Regions from separate parts of the Homo sapiens genome. Here region 1 is linked to region 2. Evidence: promoter capture Hi-C in 16 types of primary human blood cells and fetal thymus (Javierre and others, 2016). All regions are on one chromosome and are shown on one strand. The core of a region is centred on a gene start or on the middle of the fragment in contact, and the rest is flanking DNA. Distances in the headings are between cores, read along the strand shown. Region 1 holds the start of CCDC28A (coiled-coil domain containing 28A). Region 2 has its middle 650 kb from the start of GJE1.

The links. The method cuts DNA at HindIII sites, captures the fragments that hold promoters and counts their contacts. A CHiCAGO score of 5 or more calls a contact.
Region 1: the fragment with the promoter of CCDC28A here is called in contact with a fragment that was not itself captured in region 2 in 1 of 17 cell types (naive CD4 T cells); the score reaches 6.4 in naive CD4 T cells.

What each region holds. Positions count from the first base shown.
Region 1 is chr6:138,768,410-138,775,072 of GRCh38, reverse strand. It overlaps CCDC28A (coiled-coil domain containing 28A), which reads right to left and starts at 1,304. Exons shown (of 6, transcript NM_015439.3): 1 at 1,171-1,304. CCDC28A-AS1 (CCDC28A antisense RNA 1) reads left to right here and starts at 1,370. Exons shown (of 3, transcript NR_161205.1): 1 at 1,370-1,558. RefSeq lists enhancers at 992-1,051, 1,412-1,471, 1,492-1,541, 905-1,578, 1,579-2,253 and 1 more. The HindIII fragment of the contact is 8,118 bases long and covers 1-6,663 here.
Region 2 is chr6:141,479,071-141,486,639 of GRCh38, reverse strand. It overlaps the pseudogene RN7SKP106. Among named protein-coding and RNA genes, the nearest start is that of GJE1, 650 kb to the left of the region's middle. RefSeq lists an enhancer at 2,879-3,018. The HindIII fragment of the contact is 2,721 bases long and covers 785-3,505 here.

The DNA of each region.
Region 1 (6,663 bases), core at 55-2,554, 2.7 Mb after region 2:
AGCTACTCAGGAGGCTGAGGCAGGACAATGGCATGAACCCGGGAGGCGGAGCTTGCCCTGAGCCGAGATGGTGCCACTGCGACAGAGCGAGACTCCGTCTCAAAAACAAAACAAAACAAAACAAAACAAAACAAAAAAACCCCTTCCATACTTTATTTGTGCATAGTGTTAAATTTTTCTTAACTTCATTATTTCATATATCATAAGATGAATTTATATGGCTATCTCTACCTCATCAGGTTGTAAATTGCCTTCTAGAAACATTAGGCCGTTTTTGGCATGCTGTGTTTAATTTAGGCATGCCATGACCATTCAAAAAGATTCAAACCCATTGCTGTCGCTTAAAATAATTATTTGATGAATTCAATAAATTTTTCTTTTTCCTTTTGCCTGGACTTAGTGCCACTGGCACTGGAATTTAAACCACTGAGCTTAAATTGGCTGACGCTAGACAATTACAACTGGAGCTACAATACTGCCAAAGAAGAGGCTTTCTGGGAAAGGCTCCAATGCCCAGTCTCTAATCCCAGATACCACTGGGTGTCAATCCACTTAAACCTTGGCTAACAATTTTTCTTTTAAGAAGCATTTTTTGTAACAGAACAATAATTCTGGTGTTGTTTCAACATGCAACACAAATTAAATGAGAGTTTGAAAGATGACTGAATAGAGACGATTAGTTCTCTGAAGAGGCAAGGATCTGTAAAAATGTATGATACGCATAAACACGCTGGCCTGAAATTTAACGATGCTAATACACACTTGGTGGTACAAGAAAAAAAAATCTAGGAAGTAAAGCAATGCAAATAAACCAGTGGTGGTCTAAACCACAATATTCTGCGGAGCCAGCACTCGCGATTTCCTCGTTTTTGGAAAATTACATCTGTCACAAGAGCACTGAAACCCTTCCTGTATATCAAACAGCAAAGAATGTTTTAGAGAAGGCATAATAAGTAAACTGCTCATAGTTACTTATTCACACAGTGGTTTTAAGTGCCAGGTCTTGCCTCCAAGCAGTACCACTGGGCATCCCTCTTGACATCACCTCATTCCCCTTCCCCAATCTACCGAAGCGATGACCCTTCACCGCCCAGTACCCAGCAGTGACCAGAGTGGTGGGAAGGGCCTAAAGGGGCAGGTTGCGGAGGTTCCTTTGCTTCCACTACATACCTGAAGAAGAAGGGTATTGGGGCCCCCTTCCGCAACCCGCAAAGACCCGACAGCCTCAGAAGCCACCGCCGCAGCCACAAGCAGAGCCCCGGTCACATCCCGGGACCCGCTCCTCCGCAGCTCCGTTTGTTTACGGAAGTGACGTAAGAGGTACAGCCTCCATGCCCCAAGCGGAAGCCCCGCCTTTTCCTGCTCCCCCAGTGTCGCTCTTGGCTCCGCCCTCGGCATTTCATTGCTTCCCCTGTCCTTCCTTTAGCTGTAACTCCGGCGGGCGTGTTGGGTGTGTCGTTTTAGGCTCTGTGACCCAGGAGCAAGACGCAATAAGCGGGTGCAGTGGAGGTAGAAACGGGAAATGCAGTACCCTTTCCGGAAGCTACTCCGCCCCTCGGTGAGTGTTAGATTCCCCCCCCGAACTACAATTCCCAGAATGCTGTTCGAGCATGCCCGAAGGCGGAACCAGAGTGTCGCCATGCAACTGTTCCTTGGTTGTTTCCGATTGGTTGCCCGGACTTCTCGCGGCTAAACTAATTTTGGCTCCAAGGCGGCGTGAAGAGTGTGATTCTGTTCAGCGACCGTGATTCTGTTCAGCGACCATGATGTTGAGCCCCTAATTGAGAGTCTGTTACCACTATTAATAGCTACTCTGTTCGGGCCCTACACATAACGGTGTATCTAAACCTCTCTACAATTTTATGGGTAGGTGTTATACTCTCTGTTTTACAAATGGGGAATTTGAGGCTCAGAAAGGCTAATTGATGCAGGTGTCTCTCTGTCGTCAAAGATAGTTCTACTTCCACTATACTTAAAGCCTCTGGAGAAGGAATTGCAGGCTGAGAGAAAGAGATCTATCTTAAATGAGGGAAGAAATGCACGTTTCATTGCCTGGTCTGGGTAGCCTTCCCGGTGTTGGAGTGGGAGGTGGGAAGGTTTTAGATTCACAGGTCCTTAGATTGAAGGGACTCTGGAGGAACACCACATAGCACCCCCCGCATTAGCTAATGGGGAAACCATATCTAGAGATTGTATCCATGCCAGAAAAGGCAGAGCAAAGACAACCCCAGTCTCTTGGCTTCTAGGATAGGATGTTCTTCCGCCACCCGCCATTTAAAAAAAAAAAACAAAACTATTGAAATGTTAAAAAAAAAAAGCACAGAATAAACAACGCACCCACTATCCAGAACGAACAGATTTATGAATGAAAGAAATGGAGCATTACAGATAAAGAAGGTGTTCCCTATTCTCAGTCCCATTCTACTACCACCCTCAGAGAGGCAACCAGGATCATGAATTTGATATGTATCTTGCCAATCTAGGTTTCTATATTTAAACTATTACTATGTATTATAAACAATATGTAGAATGGTTTGGGGCATTTGAAGTTTTACATGAATGCTATTATATTTTGTGTATTGATCTGCAACTTGATTTTTTCACCAAATTCTGTGTTTTTGAGAGCTATCCACATTGATAAATATAGCTAGACTTTATCAAATAGATTTGTCACAAATTATTTGGGAATTCCCATAGTGATGGATGTTTAGGTTGTTTCCCATTTTTCACCATTACAAACACTACTGTACAGTCTGCTCAATATCTTTTCCCAGTTTCTCCTTTTAATTAATGTCGAATTGTCTTATTTGTATGAACAGAGCTTGCAACTGGTGATTCACATGCTACTTTTTTTTTTTTCAAATTGGTTGCTAACAGCTAAAATTGAAAGAATAAAAACAATGTGGCATCCCATGAATTAACGGGAAGATCTGACTACGTTAGATGTGCATTGTAGCCTGGCAACAATGGTTCAAGCTGGAAAGCATCTGCCTCCTTTACCTCAGTTCAAGTAATATCTAGTTTTTCTTTGTCTTTAGTACCCATCTGAGCCCTGTAGCATTTGTGTTTACAACCTCCAACATGATGTAGGGACACAGGAAAGTACCCTTCTAAATGGACATGTTTCAGGTATTCAGAAATAGGTATTCAGGTTTTGAATACCTATTTTAAGTCCCTATTTTAGCCACACCCTGTGATAGGAGGTCAGGATGCATCTATCAACAAAAGGTACAAGAGCTTTATAGTCAGAGATCTTATATTCCCGATATAAGAGACTGACAATAAATTAGTATGCAAATAAAATAGTTTCATTTAGTCAGATGAGAGTCCTGAAATAACAGCTTAAGGTCAAAAGTAGTTTGTACTGAAGGAGAAGTATCAGGGAAGGCCTTCCCGAAAATGCAGCTTTGAGGTAGAGATATGAATAAAGTGCATGAGCCAGCCATGGAATGATCTGAGGAAAATGAGTCCTTGAGTGCCAGGCACGGTGGCTTTTGCCTGTAATCCAGCACTTTGGGAGGCTGAGGCAGACAAATAGCTTGAACCTAAGAGCTGGAGACCAGCCTAGGCAACATAGCAAAACCCTGTCTTTACAAGAAATACAAAAATTAGCTGGGCATGGTGATGCAGGCCTGTAGTCCCAGCTGCTTGAGTGGCTGAAGTGGGAGGATCACCTGAACCCAGGAGGTCAAGGCTGCAGTTAGCCATGATCATGTCACTGTGCTCCAGCCTGGGTTACAAAATGAGACCCTGTCTCAAAAAAATAAAAAAAAAATAAGAAGGAGAAGGAGAAGAAAAGAAGCATTCTTGAATAGAACATACGGCTAAAATGCAGGCCATTAGGCAAAATGAACTTTAACATGTTTGAGGAAGCAGAGGGTTAGTGAGGTGAATTGTACTGGGCTAGGGACAGAGTGACGCAAGATAGAGTTGTTGTAGAGGTACAGTTTCAAGTGTGATTTCTTTAATCTAAAATCTAGAGTTCCTCCCTGAGAGAAATGATCTTTCAGATTTTCTAGATTTTCCTTTAATTCCTTTAAACTGTAAGCATCCATTCTTTGGATTAACTGTTAAATGCAGACCTTGTATAAATTACTCCAATCATATACTTTCTTCCTGAGGATTATATTTAGAGGATGGGAGCTTTGATTAACAAGACCCTTCCCCTGCCTCCCAGTACTCATACATTGTATAGCATAGGTAGGTAAGGAGGAATACTGCTGGCGAATTTCCTAGTAGTGGCAGTGGAGAGCCATTGAGAGAAAAATCTGCTGGGGGCCCAGAAATCTCTATTTAAAAAAAATTTGTCTTATGGAAAATTTCAAACATATACTGAGGAAGACAGAAGACTATAATGAATCCCTCATCCAGCCATTAACCCCTGGCCAATGATGTCGATTATAGCTGTTACCAGTGACGTTGACCCTGATCCTTTATGGAATGGAATTTTTGTTATGTTATTTTTTAGGGTGCTATGAGGATAAGAAAAGAAACAGGCATTTGAGAAGAAAATTATAACCGAATTTATACTTATAAATTTTTGATATCATAATCTCAGGTGATTCACATGGACACGCGTAAACACACCCACAAGTGCAGCTAGAAGTAAATCACCCAGAAACTGTCATTGTCCTTGTACATTGTATATACAATGCAATCATTTCATACCTTGGCCAGAAAACTGTGATTTCTGTCTTGCAAAGCTGTATGTAGTAGATAATGTGATAACCTGTAATATTGATCTGATAAATATGTATTCAGATGAAACCTGTAAAAAAAAAAAGCCCCTCTTCTGACATTTTTCAGTCTCTAGTATTATGTTGAAGTAAATCTCAGATATAATTTAATCCCTAATATTTTAATATAGATTGCTAAAAGATTAAAACTTTTAAAGACTTCACCACAATGCCTTTATGATTCCTAAGCAGCAATGAATGATTAATGTTATTAAATATTCAGTAAGTATTCAAGTTTCCATTCGAATCAGAAGTGTCATAACTTTTTTCACATTTTACTTGAGTCAGGAACCTCTCTTTCTGTAAGGTCCTCAGGTGATGAATGGGTTTGGAAGCCTCTCTTGTACAGCCTCATTAGTTGAGCTACAAACATGCATTGTCCTTTCCCTTCAGAAAGTTAGGGCGCTATGAAAGCAGGAGTCCCCAGCCTCCAGCTGTAGACTGGAACTAGTCCGTGGCCTGTTAGGAACTGGGCCACACAGCAGGAGGTGAGCAGCCAGTGAGGGAGCATTACCACCTGAGCTCCCACCTACTGTCAGATCAGCAGTGGCATGAGATTCTCATAGGAGCCTGAGCCCTAATGTGAACTGCGCATGCAAGGGATCTAGGTGGGCGGTGGTCCTTATGAGAATCTAACGAAAGCCTGATGATCTCAGGTGGAACAGTTTCAGTTTCATCCCCAACCCCCACCCCGCCCCATCCATGGAAAGATTGTTTTCCACTAAACTGGTCCCTGGTGCCAAAAAGATTGGGGACTGTTGCTCTAAAGGGGAAGGCAGGTATCTCAAAGCAAATGGATACTCTCAGTGCCTGAAGCACAGTCATTCCTGTATTGTCCTTTGTGGTTCTTATAGGGAAGAGATGTTTTTTGTTTGTTTCTTGTTTTTGTTTGTTTTTACCCAGAAGCCTATCCATCATTTTCTAAGTGTGCTTCCACTTCCATTTCCCCTGATGCCGGAATGCCTTGGCCAAGATAGTAACTGCTTAATGCTTCTTTGCGTGTCTGGCTCAGGAAACAGCTAAGAAAAAAGATAAGAAGTCATAAAGCAGAAATGAGCTCGGCATGTTCACGGAACTGAAAGAATGCCAGCGTAGTGGTCTGGAGTGCAGGGGGACAAGAAGTAGTATGAGATGAAGTCCCCAAGGTTGCCAGAGGGTCAGGTCAGGAAGGGTTTTTTAAACCAATATAAGAAATCTGTATTTTTTCCCCTAAGCACAGCAATAGGCATTGGAGAGTTTTAAGGCATGACATGGTCTAAGTTACATTTTTAAAAGATTATTCTATAGAAGAATGGAAACAGGAAGGCCAGTTAAGAGAAATGGGCCATAGTGAGGTGTTATATAGGCTTGCTTTACAGCTCAGACCTGAAAAAATAAGTTATTTCAAAAGCCATACTGTACTATGACTACTATTATAAAACTTGGTAAGATTCCTTGAGACACCCTCTAAAAAGGGTGCCAAGAGACTGGATCTGAACTATCCAGCACTGAAGGCCTTCAGAGCTGTGCTATTGTAGATGAGCAAGCCTTTTGGGAACTGTTAATAGTGAAAGGAAGAACCACGTGGTGAAGAGCTGGGAGCCACCATTTATGGAGGAGCATGGTATGGTGTCATGGAAAGTGCACCAGACCGGGAGTTGGGGGAAACCCCATCTCTTGTCTACTCCAGGCTGTACACTTTTTTTTTTTTGAGACAGAGTCTCACTCTGTCACCAGGCTGGAGTGCAGTGGCAGAATCTTGGCTCACTGCAACCTCCGCCTCCCAAGTTCAAGCGATTCTCGTGCCTCAGCCTTCTGAATATCTGGGATTACAGGCAGGTGCCACCACACCCAGCTAATTTTTGTATTTTTAGTAAAGACGGGATTTTACCATGTTGGCCAGGAAGGTCTCCATCTCCTGACCTCGTGATCCCCCCGCCTCAGCCTC
Region 2 (7,569 bases), core at 896-3,395:
TCATTTGAACCCAGGAGGCAGAGGTTGCAGTGAGCCGAGATCACGCCACTGCACTCCAGCCTGGGCGAGAGAGCCAGACTCTGTCTCAAAAAAAAAAAAAAAAAAAAAAGGATTAGCACGATACAGAACCCTTTTCTCATAATGCCATTTCAAAATTAAAGTTATTTGTTTTGTTGTTGTTGTAGTTGTTTTGGTAAAAGGAAGAAGAAGAAGAAGAGAAAAATTATGGATATGAGGGCAATCTAAGAGCAACATCTATCAACCATTTGATTGCCAGGGTTGGTGCAGCAGATCTGGTTGACTAGACAGGTGTTCCCTTCCTTCCTCACCACTCCATATGCGTTCCTTCCAAAGCTGTGTGCTCGGTAAAAGAGGATGACCATCCGCGATGGAGAAGGACCCATCTTCAGTCAAGGGCACGTGAGTAGATGGGCTTCCCTGCTAGAACTTCCAAACAAGCTCTCAAGAAGAGAAAAATCAATCACATGATATTATTCTTCACCTCTCTTGTTTATTATTTATTGATTTATTTTGTTGCTATTGTTGAATAGTTCATATAGAGTAAGTCTGGAGAAAAATAAATTAAACGGTAAGGACAATTCAGTGATTATCCAATTGAACAGCTGTATGTGAAATAACATCATTATTGGTATTACTTTATTACTTTTAGGGTTTGAATTCTTGTGTTCAAGTGTAGTTCTTTCAGATATTGTTGCTGTATTATCATCTCTAAATTTGTAAGTTGTTTCTTATTTCACAGGGACATAAAGACTGGAAACAAGCTTCATTGCCATTGGGGTTCAGTTGTATCTAAGTGATAAGAGAAAATTTCTTGGTGTTGTAGAAGAGCAGAAGCCATTGTTCTCATGCCATGGCTGAGGATAAATGTGTGGGCTTTGACAAATGGCAGACATGGGTTTTTGCCCATTGATTTTGGAGATCTTCCTGAGAATCATCTTCTTAGGTGTGGTAGGCAACTAAAATAATTGTTAATGGCTTCCTGAGATTCCTTCACTTAAAAATATCTTGAAAGCAGCTTTTCTGACTGTCATTTTGCCACCTCTCAGCAGTTTTATTGGCCACTAGTTCTGTGTCTTAAACCTCTTTACATGTAAAATACTTAAGAGTGCTTTCAGTTTTAATGTCTAAACTCTTATCTATTCAGTAGTGGATATTTGCCACTCTCTTCTAGTAAATATCTGGTTTTCAAATAGATTATATGGTTATGTGAGAAAAATCCCAGAATTAAAAAAAAAATCAGTCCTATTAAATTAACCACATACCTCCATCACACCCAAAGTTCTTGCTGCTTTTCCTCATTCTTTCAAAAAAATTTTTTATGGTTTCAAAACTCCATGCTGATAGTTTTTATCTTTTGTAATGATATAAATCAAGAAAATATGTCAGGAAATAAAATTGATATAATTTCAATACATTTATTTTTATATTGTTTTATTTTGTATTAGACTTGATTTTTATGATAAAAGTCAATGAAAGTTATCAAAATTTAGAAAAATAAAAATGAGATGAAATGTATTAAAAGGAAATCTTTAGACAAATTTAAAGGAGTTTAATGAAGCAGAGAATTATTTGGGAATCCAGTAGCTCTCAAGAGCCAGCAGAGTGGTTCAGAGATCTCACTTCTGCAAAGTAGGTAGGCAGTACATATGGACAGAAAATGAAAGTAAGGTACAGAAACTGGTTGGTTACAGCTTAGCATTTTTTACTTGTTTGGACATGGTCTGATCAATTGGCAGCCTGTGATTGGCTGAAGCTAGTCGGCTGTGACTGGCTGAGACCTAGCAATTTGTTACAATATATACTCCTAAATTAGGCTTTCAGTTTGTTTAGTTAAATTGTAGTTTGTTATGTAGGGACCTACGGTACCGAGACAGCCTCAAGCCAAATTTAATTTAATTAAACAATCATCACCTCAATCTTAATCTTGGCAAAGGAAATACTAAAATAAGATGGGCCATTGAGGAATCTTTGAGCCTTCCAAGTAAAATGGCAAATTTCAAGTTACACTGCGTTACTACAGGAACTACAGAGGTTAGAGTTTTGATCAAAGACTTAAAAAATTGCCATCCAGTGAACAGATACCTGATTAAAGTTACCTCTAAAGAGGGCAAATATTTAATAAATGGCAACAAAGAGCTGGCCGGGTGTGGTGGCTCACGTATGTAATCCCAGAATTGTGGGAGGCCGAGGAAGGATGATCGCTTGAAGCCAGGAGTGGTAGACCAGCCTGGGCAACATAGTGAGACCCTGTCTCTACAAAAAATAAAAATAAATTAAAAAAATTAAAATAAATAAGTAAATAAATAAGAGCTCCCAGTTTTTGCTTTAATAACCCAGGCTTGAAATGTTGTGTTTTTTTTTCCATTGGAAAAAAAACATTTTAAGGTTTCACTTTATTTTTGCTGAATTGTTAACATTGCTGAGCTGATTTCACCTAAATTATGGTAAAGATTAATCAGAGACCCTAAACTCTGAAGGAAGTATCTTAACTATTTTTCCAGAACTCACTAACCGCAAGTCCTAGAAAACTCCCAAGGGCAAGTTTCATATTTCTGGCCATATTTTAAAACTGAAATCATTTTGAGGAAAATTCTAAAGCGTTTGAAGAGAAGCATCCAAAAATTTCAATTGCTTCTCTGAAACCTTGGAATCCTGCCTGTTAATAATCTCCATGCTCTTTGCTTAGAATTTACCCACAGAATTAACTGACAGGAAACTGCCCATCACCCTCCACCCTCCCAGTAAGACTGTGCCAAAACACTCATCAGAAGCCACAATGACAAAAATAGATCCAATTGACGACTATGCAGTGACTAAGAAACGGATGTACCGATTTAAGCTATCTTCATTATCTTCTTCCTTGTTTTGATGGCAAAAAGAAAGAGAAAGCTACGTAATAGCATCTGGGCAAAACAGCTTGTACACCAAGTTCTGCCCTATGTAATTTAAAATATTTGAGTTCTTATAACATCCCTGAAAAGCATGGCTTTTAATACAAACACCACATATATACAGTACAGATCATCTAACTATAGTCATGCTTCTGGGCAGAGCTTGCAGCAATAGCAAAAATAATAAAAGAAAATTCTCTTTGTACAGCTGAATGGCTGCACTAGAATTTTCAGTGTTCAGATGTAATTAGAAAACAGCTGTGAAGGAAAATCAATTGTTCCTGGTAGTCAATGGCTAATTTTCCACAATCAAAATAAAGAATGCAATATGACATGTTTGTAATGAGCAAGTAATTGTTTCTCTTTTGTTTATTGTTTTAACATTTTTCCCTTTATTTGTGGGAGCTGTCATTTGCTTGCTTTAGGACAACTTCTCCTAGTCTTTGCTTCTCCCATCCATATTTAAATACTAGCAACTGCCAAAGAGGCTATGCAGTCCAGCTCAGTTTATTCACGATTGCCTTGCTTATGATGGTGATTTGTGGACTTGCAAGGAAATATTGTCCTTGCTTTTATGAATTCACAATAAAGCTTCCATAAACGGAATGATTATTAAACACTAGCATTTATTCATGGGATTTAACTTTGATTCATTCTGCAAAGGTCTCATGTGTCAAAAAGATGCAGTTCCCAGAATTCATTGACCTGCTGCTCCAAGTGCGTCTGCATTGCAAAACAAAACAAAACTGAAACGACCACACGGCCCTTTTTTTATACCCTTCAATCATTGGCATAGACTGGACGGTATTGGTGTAGCAGATGGATAGAAAAGCTCAACCTCTATGGTGCACACTTGGAATTTAGATGGTTGGAAAATTAACTTAAATGCTAGAATAGACCAATGAGAGTAAAATTGTTTTATCATGCAAAAGAGTCTGGTTGAGAAACACCAAGAGGATTAACACTCCTAGGCTGCTTTCAGCTGATAGAAAAAGAAAAAAAAAATGCTTATATTATTTAGTGAAATTAATGTCTATATTATTCTTTTTCTACACTTATATTTTTCTGGAACATTCTTTGAAAGCAAATATAATTGCAGTTTCAGAGAATGAAATGAATAGTAAATAAGGACTGAATCTTAATTGCTGTGTGATCTTGGGACCATGTCTTAGTCTTGGTTTATCTCTATTTCTTTGTGAGAAAAATGATAATTAATATGTGAATATAGGTTCTTCCTCTTCTAATATTATTACATAAAATATATTAGTATATGAATATTTCCAAATTTTAAAGTTCTGGAGGAAAGACATTTTCCATTAAAAAAATGCATGATAAGCCATCAGTAGCCACTAAGTCATAACTAGTTTCATCACATCCATTTAAACCTGTGACTGACAATTTTCTGATAGTACTTCTGAATTTTTCTCAGTCTTTTGTCTCCAGAGAGCCTGTTCCAGAATCTGTGCAGTGTTTATTATATAGCTCCATTTCTTGGCCCTAAAAAGGCATTGTGGTTTGAAGTCGCTGATGATGAGAAGGGAATTCTATATTTTATGAAGCAGAGTAAACTATTAACTGAACCAAACTTTGAACTGAACTTTGAAAACTATTGGCCTACTTCAATTATTATGGATAACAAACCTGAATATATTTTTTGAATGGCTAAGGTGCCATGCAGCTTTTGTTATAAAATTTCAGGAGGCACTCTCCCCTGTGATTCCCTGTCTATCCACTTTTGTTCTTCATAGTCTTAAGTAGAATACCAATAATTTGATATTCATATTTCCTCCTAATAAATCTCATACTGTCATACTTCATTACCTCTGCTTTTTCTTACCCTCAGCACAGAACGTCCCCTTTTTCCACTTCCCAGTCTTTTGAAAAGCACCACAGGCAAGGTCAAGAGATGTTTGCTTGTTTGATTTTTAATTTGTGTTGTTTGTTTTTGAGATCACGATGTTATACATACTTTTGTAGATGTTGTGCCAATGAAGCCAGTGGAAATTTGACTGGAAGATGAAATGATAAAAGATGGATGACACTTCTCATCCCATGACTATAAGAAGAGATAACGTAACTAAAAGGTAGTTAGATGGTATAATTAAAATATATAGTATAAGACCTGACAACCAATTGAAATGAAGGAGGAAGACAGAAGGATGGTGGAGTTCTGTAAATTCTCCAAGTTGGTAGTATTATTTTATGTCTACAACATGCTTCCTACAAGTACAAACATATGGCTGATGCTGTGTCAAATATATATTGTCTTTCAGAAATTTGAAAATTGTGGTACTGCACACAAGGAGTGTATAGAAGGCTATTAGAGTTGAGTCAGTTCATGACAATCTAAAAAGGAGAAGAATGTCAAACTCTTGCTGCTGAGATTCTGAGATCTCTCCTTTTCCTTGCTCAGGGGTTGATTCTTTAGCTGTTTTCTTGATTTTCTGATCAACCCAAAAACTTTTCCAAGAAGTCCTCTTCACGCAAATTTTCCCCTTATTTTATTCACAATTGTTTTCTGGTGCATGGTATTCAAATAAGTTAAAGTAATAAATAAAGTAATGCAGAAGTTAGTACCTGAGTGTGGCTTGCAAGAAGCAGACCCTGAGTAAAAGTGTTGGTGTGGAATCATTCAGCAGATCACGATGAGACTACTATCTGAATGGTAATGTGAAAACAGTGTTTGGCAGTGGTAAAATATCCAGCAAAAGCTTTATTTCAAATCCCCTAAGACTATATTCCCATTGGCAAAGTCTCTATGGAAAAGGTAGCTACTCCCATACACTGATTTTTATAAGATATAAGCAATGACAGAACCATGGAGAGAAATGTTTGTGTTGGATACATTGAAATATACAACATAAAGAAAAACAAACTCAAATTTTGAAGTTATTGCATCAAATAATAAAATAAAACTTCAGTTGGACTCCAAACAGGGTTAAAAAATACTAATTTCTTCTTGCAATAGTAGTAATAGGAATAAAATACCACATATTGATTCTAAATGTTACTGAAATATTGCAGAGGTTGACATAGTACATGACTTAACAAGATTTGTTACCCAAAGGTTAGGGTGTTGATTAAAATACACTATCAGCCAACCACACTGGGGATATCTTGGAATATGCAAACGATTTACTAGGTCCCTCACCTCCAATGATCTCTATTCTCCATCTGATAAAGTTTCTTTTTTATCTTCTTTGCTCACAGAAGATGTAATTCTATGGTGGGAGGAGATAAAAAATTTTCTCTGAAGTCCCACATCCAAGGCCACATCTCTTACTGATGCTATCTTTGCTGGGTTAACAAAATCCAATTCCAACAAGGCCATAAAAATAAGATACGTAACTGACTTGGGAAGGAGAATTACATATATAAGCAATTGTAGAAATTTGACAATGGATGCCATCTAAAACCTTATGAGATTTTGCCTAATAAGGGTAAATATAATTTTCAAATAAGTTGAAGTATTTTTTCTACATATCTACTTACTGGATAATTATCTATGTAGCTAAAATAAACAGTAATAAAGATTGATCTAAACTATGTTACATATTTAACAATTTGAAATTCTCCATGTAATATAGGTAAGGAAGGGTAACAACAGTATCAAATAAGGATGTTGAATTAATTTTGTCTTCTACATAGTCTACCTGGTCTATATCCAATTCCTGAATCCATATCCCTATATGGATGGATTTAGCTTCCTTCCTGTCGTATAAGTTAAAATGTCTCTGATGCTACCTGAGATAAAACCTTCCTTATGTATTCTCAATTTCCTCTCATCTAATTAAGGATGTTGCTCCTGTAATTCTCCTCTGCACTCCTTCATCACTGAGGGCTCCTGTGTACTGGAACATTTCTATCACCCGTAAACATTTCCAATCTTAAAAAATAAAAATAAACTATGCCATATATGCGCAGATCAACCCTGATTCTTAGCTTCTGTTTTTGTTTTGTTTTGTTTGTTTTGTTTTGTTTTTTAGATGGAGTCTCACTCTGTCACCCAGGCTGGAGTACAATGGCACGATCTCGGCTCACCACAACCTCTGCCTCCAGGGCTCAAGTGATTCTCCTGCCTCAGCCTCCCGAGTAGCTGGGATTACAGGCGCCCGCCACCATGCACAGCTAATTTTTGTATTTTTAGTAGAGTTGGAGTTTCACCAGGTTTGCCAGGCTGGTCTCGAACTCCTCAGGTAATCCACCTGCCTCGGCCTCCCAAAGTGCTGGGATTATAGGAATGAGCCACTGCACCCCGGCCCCTTAGCTTCTGTTTATAGCTAATAAACAAAAGGGTTGTCTTACTCAGTTTCTTTACTTCCTTTTCTCTCATTCTCTCTTGCACTCTCTCCAACTCAGGTTTTATTCCCACTACTCAACAGAGATGATTTTTGTTAAAATCACCAAGAGACCTATCTGCATTTCCAGATTTGAAACTTAATTCTCAGTCCTCATCCTAAAAACTACTTAAGTGATATATTTAAAACATTTGAGTGCTCACCTCTTCTTGAAATACTTCACTCACAGGCCTTTAGGACATCACTCTTTCTTGATTCACCATATTTTCTAATGCTTCTTTGCCTTTATCTCGTCTAATCTTATTGAATGTGATTTTAGGAATGCCCCAAGCTGGATCCTAAGCCATCTCTCTTTCTAT